2 separate regions of the Homo sapiens genome follow, and region 1 is linked to region 2. The links are contacts of gene promoters, found by promoter capture Hi-C in blood cells and fetal thymus (Javierre and others, 2016). All regions are on one chromosome and are shown on one strand. The core of a region is centred on a gene start or on the middle of the fragment in contact, and the rest is flanking DNA. Distances in the headings are between cores, read along the strand shown.

Region 1 (6,652 bases), core at 2,040-4,539, 41 kb after region 2:
TACATTTAAAATAATTGGATATGTAGCAATTTGAGGTGGGCTTTGAGCTAATGGGTCTTATGCTGCTGTGAAGAAGTAAACAACATAAGGCCAATATACAGAGGCCATCTTTAACCCATTTATGTAATATATACAAAACTATATAAGACCCACCTCCTGCCTTAGGAAATTCATACATTCTAGTGAGAAATTATCGCACTATGATAAATGCTAAAATCAAAGTTTGAACTAAGACCTTGGGAGTAATAAAAAATTCCACTTTTGTGGTGTTTCCAGGTTTTTTCAAGCATATTGTAGCTCAGGAAGCACTCTACATTGTTGGCTACTGGCGACTGACATTGCATCATAACTTTTAAGTTTTAAAACTGTGTCACCCTTTCAATATCTGTGGGTTACGTGTTCATATTCAGTTATGTTTGTAGCTTTGAGTCTACATACAGTCTCATTTCTGCATTTCATGTGAAAGAAAATGCCAGTCTTAGCACATTCTCTTATGCTATTAATGGAGAGGGGAAGAAGCCATTCTAGTTCCTTCCTAAAAAAAGTGATCACTGTTTAAAGCTCAAGTAGGTGGGTGCTTGTGTATAGTTCATGAAATTTGGGATACTCAGAGCTCAGTGAATACCTGAAAATGAAGAGACCTTTTAACCTGGTGGGTCAAGTTTGACTTAAGTTCTTGAACAAATTCACTGTAAGTACTCTAGAGGCAGTGTTTATGAGGGAATTTAGATGCCAGGATAATTTTTTTAAATAGAAGGAATAAATTGCCCCTTGTTTCCCAATTAAGACACCTAAGAAGCTTGATCTGTAATCATGTCTTCTGTGGTTACTCTCTGAAGTCTTATGTTGAAATAAGTGGCTGTCTCTCTTCTGTCCCTTTATGTACCATCACTGGTATAGCCAGTCCTGCCTATAGAAAGGAAAAATCAAGTTTTTTACACCTCGTGTTAGAATGGGTATTTTCTACAGAAACTGTTTCAAAGGAGAATGGAGTTGGAATACTACTTACTACCAGTGTGACTCTGAAGGTGTATTATAGATTTTTATAGGATTTTAATAAGGTTTTTTAAAGCTGATTTGCGAATTCAACCATCATTGAGAACTTTGTTTCTGTAAGAAAATGTAGTCGCAGAACTAACTCCATATGTTTCATCAGGGCTACGAAGGGCCCATGTATGTAGAAAACTTCAGTAGTATTGATTATGGCTACTAAATAGGTAATTTTGTTGAAAATAAGTTTAACATTATTAGCAAATAGAATGGTAATTGAAGAGAAGTTAATTTAGGAATTTTGTAAAAAACTTGGCTATGATTATGGTACTGACACAGTAATGTGGGGCCAGAACTTATGGTAACCCCATAAGAGTGATTCTATAATTTTTTTTTTTTTTTTTTTTTTTTTGAGACTGAGTCTCATTCTGTTGCCCGGGCTGGAGTGCAGTGGTGCGATCTCGGCTCACTGCAACCACTGCCTCCTGGGTTTAAGTGATTCTCCTGCCTCGGCCTCCCAAGTAGCTTGGATTACAGGCGCCCACCACCACGCATGGCTAATTTTTTTGTATTTTTAGCAGAGACGGGGTTTCACTATGTTGGTCAGGCTGGTCTTGAACTCCTGACCTCAAGTGATCCGCCCGCCTCCGCCTTCCAAAGTGTCGGGATTACAGGCGTGAGCCACCACGCTTGGCTAATTCTATAAATTTTTAAGCGTATCTTTATTTGTTTTTCAGTGATCTACTGACTGTAAATCATTCTGTCAGCTTCATAGTAACATTTAATTTCAACCTACCCAGTCCCTAATTGGCCAAACTGTTATAAAACCAAATTACGCAGCAGTGAGGAAAATAGAAACTTGAATGAATGCTATTAAAATAAGTTTAGACCATCTCAAATTTATCCTCATAATTCAGACTTTCTCTGTTTTCAAAGAAGACGTCTCATACACACTGAGTGTTATTGGCAGATTTGACATGGCTGGAGTCTTATGTGCAGAAATATAATATGTATCTGTCAGTGGTTTTCAGGAGCCCCTATGAAAGGGCTTGATTTTGCTGGTTTGAAGCCTTTGTTGGCATCAGCAAAGTCAAAGAGTTGTAGGCAAGGTTAACAGCCACTTCATATTTAATGGGTTTATGCAAACCGTGATCTATATATTGATTATATAAAATACATCACTGTTGTCTTAACATCCAGATGAAAAGGAAAAAAATGTTTTCTACATCAAAATCTTTAGACTTAAAAATCTCTGTGATTCATAATATTAATTAAAAGAGAAAATAAAAATCTGAATAATTTGCTTTGACCTGTGTATGTATAAGGGTCATTATAAGGGTTAGTGCTTGGGTTGCTTGTGAGTTTTCAGGCAAAGGGACATACAGCTCATCTTTTTTATATTGCAACTGATCAGTGATTAATACTTAAGAGGCTTCAGGGGCTAAGTATAGTTGCTGATTTATTTGCAGCTCTTACTCCACTTCAATTATTTAAATACAGCGAAGAGTCCGTCGTGAGAAACACAACAGAGTAGGAGAAATTTGAGATCTATCAGCATAAACAGATACAAGTGTTGCTTTGCCCCAAATCATAAAAAGTAAAAAAATTAAAACTACCTGTTAATTCATTGTGATATTATTTGTAAAACACAGTGACATAAATGATATTTTCCTACAATGTGTTATTTATTATTTTGACAATTTCTGTCACTATGTTGAGAAAGAATCTCTTATCCAAATTAAAACTAAGTAAAAAACTATTTAAGGAACATTATGAGACAAAAGGTTTTTTCAGTTATCACTACTCAGCATAGAATCTGAAGCCCATTGGGGGAAAAATGAAGTTTATAAAATTGAGTAATTTATAATATTAAATTTTTCCAAAAACACTTTTTAAATTTTCTGAAAATTATTTTTTGTTCACCATATAATCACATTCTGTTTAAGCTTCTACGTTTTAAATATTTGATATAATATTTAGTGATTTTTAAAGTTCTTCCTGTGTGAGTAAATGAGCTGTTTTTGTTTTCCATGTAGAGAAGTTTGTCTGCTTTCACTCTGGAAATGATTTCTTATGGGTTAACGCCTTTGGATACATGTGTTCCAAGAGCTAAACAACTGCTATACAAGTGAATTTTGAGACATGGCCCATTCCTGAATTGGGGATTGTTTGCAAATTCAAGACCATCAGTTAAAAGTACTAATAGTGAAGTTAACTTAAATCACTGTATGACTTTTATGTATTTTTTCCTACAAAAAATATAATAATACCTTATTCACAACTCAGGTATAATTTTCAGTTTTTGGCAATTTATACTCTTGAATTTTTAAAGCAGTGAATCATTTTGTTTTGTCAGATTAATTTTGCAACTACATCAGAAAACTAAATGATGTGGTTATTTGTAAAAGCTGCTTGAAGTAGACAGATAGCAAGTCATTGTGAGGTGAAGTATCTCCAGAGTGATAATCATAGCCATTTAGAGGTTATTTTTGCATTATAAAGATAGTAATCATAACAACAGATATTTAAATTACTCTATTTAATACAAACAGCAATCATATGTCTGGGTACATTGCTTCAATAACAAGCGTTATTTTAAACAAAATTATATATACTAACTGCCTTATCTATTTATATTGCTCCCATCCTAGGCTAAGCTTTTATCATCTTGCAACTGGATCACATTCTCTCTCTGTCGCTCTCTTCCTCTGTCTCTCTCCTCCCCCAGCCCCAATTCTGTCAATCATCACAGGTTTGAGTACTTACTATGTGCTAGAAATAGTGCAAAAACCTGAGGACACAGTGGGAATCGAGAAAAACCTGGTCCTTACTACATTGAGTTTACAGTATTGCACAGAAGACTGATATTGATAGGTAATTAGGATTTGATACGTGGAATGTGTTGCAGAAGGAACCATGGGAGACTATAACAGGATCAACTGTATCCTTAGCTGAGAGCAGAACAGTTGAGTAGAAGATGGCTAGATGATTAAGAAAGAGGTGAGGTGGGATGGAGCGGGTGCTGTAAGCAGAGCAAAGAGCACCTGGAAAGGCCGAGACTGAAAAAGAGCTGGAGCTCTAACCAGTATTGTTATACTGATGAAGACTGTTGCACACAGATTTCAGAATATAGATAGATGTTCTAGAGTGTGTGTTCTAGTCAGACCTGAATGCTAATCTGGACTGTGTAATTTATTATCTTTGTGATTTAGGCAAATGACTTAATGACTGTAAACCTTGATTTCCTGATGAGTAAAACAAGACAGTACCTTCTTGTACATAGGATTATTGTGAGGATTTAAACAAGGCAATGCCTGTAAAGCTCTTAGCATAGTGCCTATAAATGCTCAGTAAATGGTAGCTATTAGTTAGGTAGAATAGACCAAACTTGCTGATCTCTGCAAGCCGCCTTTTTAGCCTTTGATTCCTTCTTTAGTTTATTCTCAATATTACAGGTCCATAACCCTTTTCTGAAATTCTGAAATATGAATGCTCTGAAAACACTCTTATCATTTGGCCACAAGCCCCAACCTTCTTAAGGCCGTATAGGTACTCTTTATTTATCCTGTTTTGTGAAATATCCATGTTTTCCTTTTAAACTTGAATACATTTGAGTTAATGTGTTACCCCAGATCCTGCTTAGTGTGTTTTGTAAGATATGATACACCTAGCATATTCCTTTCTAAAACATGAAACATGCTGAGTTCCAAGACGTGTTTGGCTTGAAAGGTTTCAAATAAAAGATTGTACACGTGTGCCAACCCAAAGTCAGCTTTCTAAAATACCATTTTCTCCATGTCTGTCTTCAAATCAGAAAATCATAAGAACGCCTAGTGGTTTTCCAGTTTAGTTTTGACTATTCCTTGTGGTTTTCAAGACTGCCTCTAATCCACCCTACATATTCAAAATTTAATACCCTTGTACTTGAACCATTTGTTTCATAAGTCTGTTCTCTTCAACTTCCCTGAAGTAAAATGTTAATGCTGCTCCTTTTGTCTGACTTCCCTCTCTTTCTCTCTTTGTGGCTCTTCAGATCCCTACCCAACAATTAGGCCACAATTCTTTGTAGTTTCTCAATGAAGCTATATTTATCTATTTCTTCTCTGAATTCTTATTGTGCTTAAATGAATTTATTTAACAGTATTTGAGCAGATATTATGTGCCAGCTACTGTTCTAAGTGTCAGAGATCTGAAAGTGAATAAGACAGTTAAGGTCTCTACTGTTAGGGAACTTGTTTTCTAGAAAGTAGAAGACAACCTGTAATCCCAGCACTTTGGGAGGCTGAGGTGGATGGATCACGAGGTCAGAAGTTCGAGACCAGCCTGGCCAAGATGATGAAACCTGATCTCTACTAAAAATACAAAAATTAGCCGGGCATGATGGCGGGCACCTGTATCCAAGCTACTCGGGAGGCTGAGGCAGGGAATTGCTTGAATCCGGGAGGTGGAGGTTGCAGTGAGCCGAGATCGTGCCACTGCACTCCAGCCTGGGTGACAGAGGGAGACTCCGTCTCAAAAAAAAAAAAAGAAAAAAAAAAGTAGAACACAAATAAGTGAACAATATCATTTCAGATAACAGTTAATGCTGTCAAGATAAGACAGGAGGATAGTGCCTTGGGAGAAGCGACATACCTGAGAAACTCATAGTTTCGCATTTAGTTATTTTTGTTTTTATATGGTTAGTTTTTTTTTTTTGGTTTGACGGAGTCCCACTCTCTCGCCCAGGCTGGAATGTAATGGCATGATCTCGGTTCACTGCAACCTCTGCCTTCCAGGTTCAAGCAATTCTCCTGCCTCAGTCTCCCAAGTAGCTGGGATTACAGGTGCCCACCACTACACCCAGCTAATTTTTGTATTTTTAGTAGAGACGGGGGTTTCACCATGTTGGTCAGGCTGGTCTCGAATTCCTGACCTGAGGTGACCCACCCGCCTTGGCCTCCCAAAGTGCTGGTAGTACAGGTGTGAGCCACCAAGCCCAGCCTATATGGTTAGTTTTTACTCCCTGGTTAGACTGTAAATGCCTTAAGGGAAGAATCCTTAAACTTCTATGTGCCATAAAGTGTTGGGTATAAAATGGGTGCTTGATTAAGGTTTGGTTGAGAAATTTGTCCTTTTTTGACAGAGAAGGTAAAAATCTATTTATTAAATATAAAGCACTACTTGGCTAAATCATTGATCTAAGAGTATCTGTTATGTACAAAGTACTGTGTTGGTTTTGAAATTTTTGTATTTGTCTAAATCTAGCTTTTTCATTTCTATTGCTTTTTATTCATAGTCTAAGAAAGAAGAACTTTCATGTCTACACAACTTTTTTTTCCCATTTGAAATGCTTTAATATTGTGAACCCCATAAATTTGAGACAGGTCTCAGTTTAGAAAGTTTATTTTGCCAAGGTTGACAATGCGCTTGTGACACAGCCTCAGGAAGTCCTGATGACATGTGCCCAAGGTGGTCAGTGCACAGCTTGCTTTTATACATGTTAGGGAGACATGAGACATCAATCAATATGTAAGAAGTACATTAGTTCCATCCAGAAATGTGGAGACAACTCAAAGTAAGGCCTCCCTACTGGGGGCTTCCAGGTCACAGGTAGGTGAGAGTCAGATGGTTACATTCTTTTGAGTTTCTGGTAAGTCTTTTCAAAAGAGGCAATCAGAATATG
Region 2 (7,395 bases), core at 1,385-3,884:
CAAGGCAGTCGGATCACCTGAGTTCGGGAGTTTGAGACCAGCCTGACCAATATGGAGAAACCCAATCTGTACTAAAAATACAAAATTAGCCAGGCGTGGTGGCACATGCCTGTAATCCCAGCTACTCGGGAGGCTGAGGCAGGAGAATCGCTTGAACCTGGGAGGCGGAGGTTGCCGTGAGCTGAGATTGCGCCATTGCACTCTAGCCTGGGCAATAAGAGTGAAACTATATATATCTTTCCCGATAGCATGAAAGCTCCCTAAGACCAAACCATGTCTGTCTTGTTCACCACTGTACTCATGATGCCTTGCACAGTACCTCACACTTAGTAGGCTGCCAACAAATGTTAACTTGAATCAGACCCTTAAGACTCAGCTCAAACATCATCTTCTTTGGGAAGGTGTCCCTGAGCCTCTGACACTCCGATAGTTACCTCTTTCATGTGCTTCAAAGGCTTCCTGTTCATATCTGTTATAGTGCAGTGCAGTTCTTTAATGGTCTGTCTCTCCCAGTAGGCTCTGAAGTTCTAAAAGGCGGAAACTGTGTCATCTTCATCCTTCTTACTCATGACACTCTGTATCACCTAGTGTACTCTAAGGAGCTGAAGAAATGTCTACTGGGCAGATTACTGAACCATGTTTGCGCTTGGAGGGCCCTCAGCTATGGACCACACCTATGGCACAAACAGGAATTACGCATTGGCTAAACAGGTCATGTCTTTCTGAAGCACCCATTTTGACTCAATTTTTCAGGAGAGGAGACATTTATATAAATTGTGTTTGTGTGTGTGTGTATGTAGTGAGTTGAATTCAAAATATACACTAAACTTTAAGTAAGTAAAACGGGAACTTCAACAAAGCAAAGTTACCATGGGGCTCCTTGAGCACCCTGTTTGGGAGCATGTATTCCCTCTTCTCTGCTGTCCTTTGGTAGCTTGCCACCTTAGGAGTAGAGAAGTCACACCTCCATGATTAAAAAGAAAGTCAGCCGGGCACGGTGGCTCACGCCTGTAATCCCAGCTCTTTGGGAGGCCAAGGCAGGCGGATCACCTAAGCTCAGGAGTTTGAGAGCAGCCTGACCAACACGGAGAAACCCCATCTCTACTAAAAATGCAGAATTAGCTGGGCGTGGTGGTGGGTCCCTGTAATCCCAGCTACTTGGGAGGCTGAGGCAGGAGAATCGCTTGAACCCGGGAGGTGGAGATTGCGGTGAGCTGAGATTGCACCTTTGCACTCCAGCCTGGGCAACAAGAGGGAAACTCTGTCTCAGAATTAAAAAAAAAAGAAAGTTAATGACAATGACAAAGCTAGAATTAAAGCTGTTTTCAGATATCTGGTGTTCTTTTCATTCTACTGCCCAAGTTAGCTGTCTCCTTGCACCTATAGCATGGTCAAATGCATCCTAATGCACTCTCAATAAATATGTTCAGATACAAATTCCATTCAGCATATTAAATTTAGGCCGAAGGGGAGAAGGTCAAAAGGAGTCATAGTCTGGAGATATCTTCAGTAATAGGTGTATGGCATGTTTATAGATTTCATATTTAAATTTACTTTATAGGTAGCTTTCCTAGCATATGTGCTCCTATTCTATGATGGTGGTTCATTCAAATCCTACCCACCCCGTCTAATGTTCTCAGTGTGTACCTTTACTTTTAAAGGGCATCATTTAAAGAGGATGGAAGAAATACAGTGTGGGTACTATATTTTGTCCTGAGGACAAAATGCTAGGTATGACGCAAGGACTTAAGACTATCGTCCCAACAGTGCCCTGCTGCTGCACAAAAACACCTAGCATTTGTCTAGGGATTTTCATTTACAACAAAGCTTTGACACACATGATCTTATTCACTCCCCACAACAACTCTAAACTAGTTCGGGAACCTGAAAATAGCACTCAATTCAATTGCTAGCTGTATGTAAGTGTTTTGGTTATAGAACCTAACAATCCCCTAGGGATTAAGCGGTGGGCGCCTGCTGCTTCAACAACCCTGCAGCAAGGGAATAAAGGAACAACTGTATTTCTTCGGTCACAACGTAATCACGACAACAGAAAGCACTCACTCTTTCCACTCTGACCCACACACAGTCTGTCGAGGCAATTAATCAGCACTCCCGGTGGTTTTCCTATAGGATGCCAGTTCCCTTGCCAATCAAGTCTTTCCACAGACTGTAGCAGGACCACACCCCCGGAGAGGCCTCAGGGAGGGAAGGTGCTGTGGCCCACAGAAGTGAAAGCTGATACTCAGGTTGACCCGCCAGTGAAACTTACAGGCGGATCTTCCCGGGCCTCAGTTTCCCCATCTCTAAAATGGGCTACCCTTCCTTTCTCTTGACTAGTTCCCTCCCTGTTCTCGCTGGGCCACTAGGAAGTGAAATCAGTGCCTAACCGCAGCTGAAAGTGCTCTGTTAGGCTCCAGTCACCGCGCCGGGCATGCTCAGTAGCTGGGGCCGGCTCGGCTGCGGGAGTAGGAAGCAGCTTTGCGCGCCCGGGCGGCCGATGCGGGCACTTTGAAGAATCACGTGTGTTGAGGCCCTCTTAAAGAGATAGGCACCTACTTTTCCCTCCACCCTAAACACCGCCCTGAGGGCGGCGGCGACCGTGGTAATTGCAACTGCTCAGGGGCAGGGCTTGCCCCAGCGCCGAGTAGTGGCAACGGCGTGGTTGCGTCGGGGGTGCCTGGGAGCCTGGAGTCCCGGGGGCCTGAAATCGGCAGCTTCCCGGGCAGACACTCTCTCCCTCAGGAAGAGGTGCCGCCGAGTCAGCGCGGGGCAGTGTGAGCGCCCCGAGGTGCTTTCTCAGTTGAGGAGAGGTGGGGTTACAGGGCACAGGTGACAGGGCCGGAGAAAGATGGAGCAGCCCGGGGCGGCGGCGTCGGGAGCGGGAGGCGGCAGCGAGGAACCCGGTGGGGGCCGGAGCAACAAGCGGAGCGCGGGGAACCGGGCCGCCAATGAAGAGGAAACGAAAAACAAACCCAAATTGGTGAGTGCTCCCGCAGCCCCCGCCGGCCTTAGGGACAGGGAGAGCCCCGGGATCCTCCTGCCATTGAACACGGGGGCACCCGGGGCCCCCTCCCAAGGATGACCGCGACCTCGCTGTGCAACTCGGGGAGCCGCTAAAGGAGTGGCCACGCCGAGGCGCGGAGACGGCGTGGGGGCGGAAGAGCACCCCCTTCTCTACTTAACCCCTTTCTCACTCTTGTCAGCCCGGGAGGCGGTGCGGGAAGGAGAAAGGCCCAGCCCCAACTTGGGGACACCCCGAGTACTGGGTAGGGCTGTTGTTTGTCTAACTTGTGGGCGCAAACCTTTGCGCGATTCCATTCTCCTCCCACTTCTTGTTAGTTGCTGTTTTGCCTCCTAACGCGTAGGGTCCGGGGCAGGGGAACCTCCCTCCTTTTTATTCCAAGTCCTTGGGAGCCCACCTACAGCTTCGCAAATCAAGAAGAACACTATTTATGCTCCCAGTCTTTCTACTTTACCAGAAATCTCAGGAAGAGGCGCCTACGTGCCTTTTTCCTCCTCCTTGCCTCTCTCCATGTGCTCTCCCAAGAAATGTTTCTTTGGAAGGGTGGGGGCGCGTGGGAGTTTGAGGCTGGGTGAGGTACCACCAACTGTCGAGTGTGTGTAATAGGCATAGTCATACAGTACTTCCACTTAGTTGATTAAGAACGCTCAAAAGCAGTAGGCACAAACTGTGCAAATCTCACCGTGCTGATAGTGTGAACCGATGGTAGCAGTCCATTTCCTGCCACTGAATGTGCAGAGGAATGAAATCGATGAGGCCTGGTATTGCATTGGGAAATACTGGAGTTTCCTCAGCTCATCAGAAGGGTTCCGCTTTTTGTAAACTTTCTAATTTGGGTGGTGTGAGGGGAAAGGGTTTTCCTGTACAAATTCAGCAGATACTCCTTAGAGCTGTATTCTTAGTCCAGATCCGAAGCACAAGCCACATGTTGAATGTATAGATTTCAGCTTTAACTACCAACTTGATTATAATAGACAAGGAGAGGGTGACATATAAATAAAGCCGTTTCTTATGGCATCTGGCCATTTGGTTTGGATCCAGTACAAAACTGTGGTTTAATCAGTGATTAAAAATTTAAGTAAAAAGTTAACTGATAGTTTCCACAAATGGTTTGGTACGTCTAGCAAGAATCTGCCACTTTTAAGAAGTATGCTTTCGAGAAAAAAAAAAACACTTATCTCTGTTAGTAGTAACACCTTGATTATATTCTTCTCTTCCCTTTAGCCATTTGTCCTGATTCATCTTTTATGTTTTACTTGCTTTGACAAGGTAACTAGATAGTTATGAGATCGTATCATTTTCAGTTCCTAGCTAACTTCACTGTTCCGGTTCCTAGCTAACTTCACTGTTCCGTGTTGAACATAGCTTGATACGGTAGAACAAGATTTGAATCCAAGAGTTTGTTAATATTAACATGAATTTTCTTTTTTTGCTCAAACATAACTTTTGAGCCTTACGTGATTTTACAAGCAGATGTGTCAGAGTTAACAAAAACAAATTTAGGAAGACATTGTGGCACATTTTAAGGCAAGCAAGTTGACCAAACAGTAAGATTTAGTAAGCTTTTCAGGAAAGAATTCATCTGGGATTCTTAGAAGTTTGCTAGTAAGATACAACTTTACTTAGATGAAATTTTTTTATTTTGAGTATTATGTTAATAATCTCTGAACTAGTCCTTAATTTGTGTGTGTATATGAGTGTAAAGGAGTTGTGGTATGGGATTATAAAAGAGAGCCATATGGTGATAGAAATTATTTGTGTAGGTGATCTTGGGGCATAGGGGTTCTTAAACTCCTGAAATTGTATGAAAATATTTGAGTGTATATGGGTACATTTATTTTTCTGGGCCCCATGGCTTTCATCAGTTTTTCAAAGGCATCCATTACCTATAGAAGAGTAAGAACTATGGCATTACAAAAGATAGAAAGTAAAGGAAAGAATAGTTGATTCCACTCTAAGTTACTGAGTAGGGAAGAAGGGGAAATGGCATTGACCACACAGGTGATTGATATTGAAACGAATTCTTCTAGTGGTAAAAAAGAAGTTAACTACTCAATGTCTACATAGATTAAAATTTCCGCTACAGAGGAAAATTAATTCAGTCGCTCCAGTATAATGGATTCATAAGGTATAAGGCTTGTGTAGTTTGGTTGTTTTCATTTAGTTCCTCAGAATTCTGGAAAAATGGAAATGGAACACATATTTTCTTTTCTTTTTTTTTTTTTGGGACGAAGTCTCGCTCTGTTGCCATGGCTGGAGTCCAGTGGCGCGATCTTGGCTCACTGCAACCTCTGCCTCCCGGGTTCAAGTGATTCTCCTGCCTCAGCCTCCTGAGTAGCTGGGATTACAGGCACGTGCCACCACACCCAGCTAATTTTTGTATTTTTAGTAGAGACGGGATTTCACCATGTTGGTCAGCCTGGAAAGCAGATTTTCTATAGAGAGGAACTGCTTTCATTTATATCCTCAACTTTTTAATGAGTATTAGTGAGAAATTTTTCAGAGTGGCATTTCAACACTATAATGATTTCTATTTAAGATTACTTAAATAAAAATTTAATGGAATTCACTTCAGTTTTTTTCATATAAGCATCCTCATAATGACCCTTTTGTTTTGATTCTTTTAAAATAAGGCATTCCTGTCTTGGACTCATCACATTTTGAATAATGCATTAGTAGTAGAGTTTTGGATTTTATGTAACTATTTTGGTTAGGCCCAGATTGCAACATGTCATCAAACAGCATGAATCTTAGATTAATTTGTAATTTGATGTCAACCATGGAATGCATTTTGTTAAATTGAGTAGAAGAGAAAGCTCTATAAATGTTGTGAAGGAACTACATCTTGAATCCTACTTATTTAAGGCAGTGACTTAACCATTAAGAGAGGCCAATGTTGATGCAGAACACCGCACCCCACACCACACGGTAGTGTAGAGTGACCTAACAGTATTTGATGTTTTTGCATTTTTGACTTTGTGTTCCTGCATAATTTCTGAAGCCTTTGGTTCTTCAAACAGTAAAGTCAAATTAGTTAATTTTTCTGGTTATTATGTAACTTCCTATTTGGTTATTTGTTTACAACTGGATAAATTATGTTTTTATTTATTTATTTATTTTGAGACGGAGTCTCGCTCTGTTGCCCAGGCTGGAGTGCAGTGGTGTGATCTCGGCCCACTGCAACCTCTGCCTCCTGGGTGCAAGCGATTCTCCTGCCTCAGCCTCCCTAGCAGCTGGGATTACAGGTGTGCACCACCAGGCCCAGCTAATCTTTTTTGTATTTTTGTAGAGACGGGGTTTCACCATATTGGCCAGGCTGGTCTTGAATTCTTGACCTCAAGTGATCCACCCACCTCCACCTCCCAAAGTGCTAGGATTACAGGCTTGAGCCACTGCACCCAGTCTTGATTTTTAATGATAAGGTATGAGCAACAATGATTTCATTTATGCAATACAGGTTTACTGAGTACCTACTGTGTGCTAGGCATAATTCTAAGGGTTGGTGATACAAAGATACTTGTAGTCTACTGAGACAGACAGGGAAGTTAATTAATGCTTAAAATGCAATGTGAGCCAGACGTGGTAGCTTGTGCCTATAATCCCAGCTACACAGGCTGCTAAGGCAGGAGGATTTCTTGAGCTCAGGAGTTTGAAGCTGCAGTGAGCTGTGACTATACCACTGTATTACAGCCTTGGCGACAGAGAACCCATCTCTTTAAGGAAAAAAAAAAAAGCAGTGTGATAAGTTGCTATAGGAATATGCATGGTTGGGGGTGGTCATGGAGAGGCATCTACGTAGAATTGCATGCTTGAGTAAGAAAAGGCTTATCGCAGTAGGTGACATTTGCAGCTGAAGGCTGAAGAAAATAGGTGAGGGAAAGGCATTCTAGGTTGAAAAAACAACATATACAAAGGTAAACAGATAAGGGAGCATATCCAATAAAGAAAGTTCACTTAGATGAATATGGCTGAAACAAAGGGTACACATGGTAGACTTGCTAGAAAAGAGACGGGGTCCGGATCATGATGGATCTTGTATGCCATGTTAGAGTTTCAACTTCTTTCTGAAAGTAGGGGTAACCCATTAAAGAGATTAAGGCGGAGAATGACCTGATCAGATTTGGGTTTCAGAAAAAAAAGTACTTTGGAGAATTTCTTGGAAAAGCATGCTAGAATGGAGGCAGGAAGACCATTTAGAAGGAGCAGAGTAGCATAAAAGAGTTTTTGATATTTGGAGACCTGGATTCCAGTTGCAGCTTATCCATTCATTCATTTACCAGCTCATCCATTTACTAGGTGTTTTTCTCTGCACCTCAGTTTCCTTCTGCCACCTCCCTTGCCTCTCCTTAGTACCACACACCCTGAACATC

Evidence for each region. The method cuts DNA at HindIII sites, captures the fragments that hold promoters and counts their contacts. A CHiCAGO score of 5 or more calls a contact.
Region 1: a fragment that was not itself captured here is called in contact with the fragment with the promoter of DIAPH2 in region 2 in 1 of 17 cell types (monocytes); the score reaches 5.4 in monocytes.

Annotation. Positions count from the first base shown.
Region 1 is chrX:96,722,540-96,729,191 of GRCh38, forward strand. The region is part of intron 1 of DIAPH2 (diaphanous related formin 2); the gene reads left to right. Among named protein-coding and RNA genes, the nearest start is that of DIAPH2, 41 kb to the left of the region's middle. The HindIII fragment of the contact is 711 bases long and covers 2,935-3,645 here.
Region 2 is chrX:96,682,208-96,689,602 of GRCh38, forward strand. DIAPH2 (diaphanous related formin 2) reads left to right here and starts at 2,635. Exons shown (of 27, transcript NM_006729.5): 1 at 2,635-2,983. The coding sequence starts at 2,852. RefSeq lists enhancers at 2,423-3,138, 3,139-3,852. The HindIII fragment of the contact is 2,760 bases long and covers 1,826-4,585 here.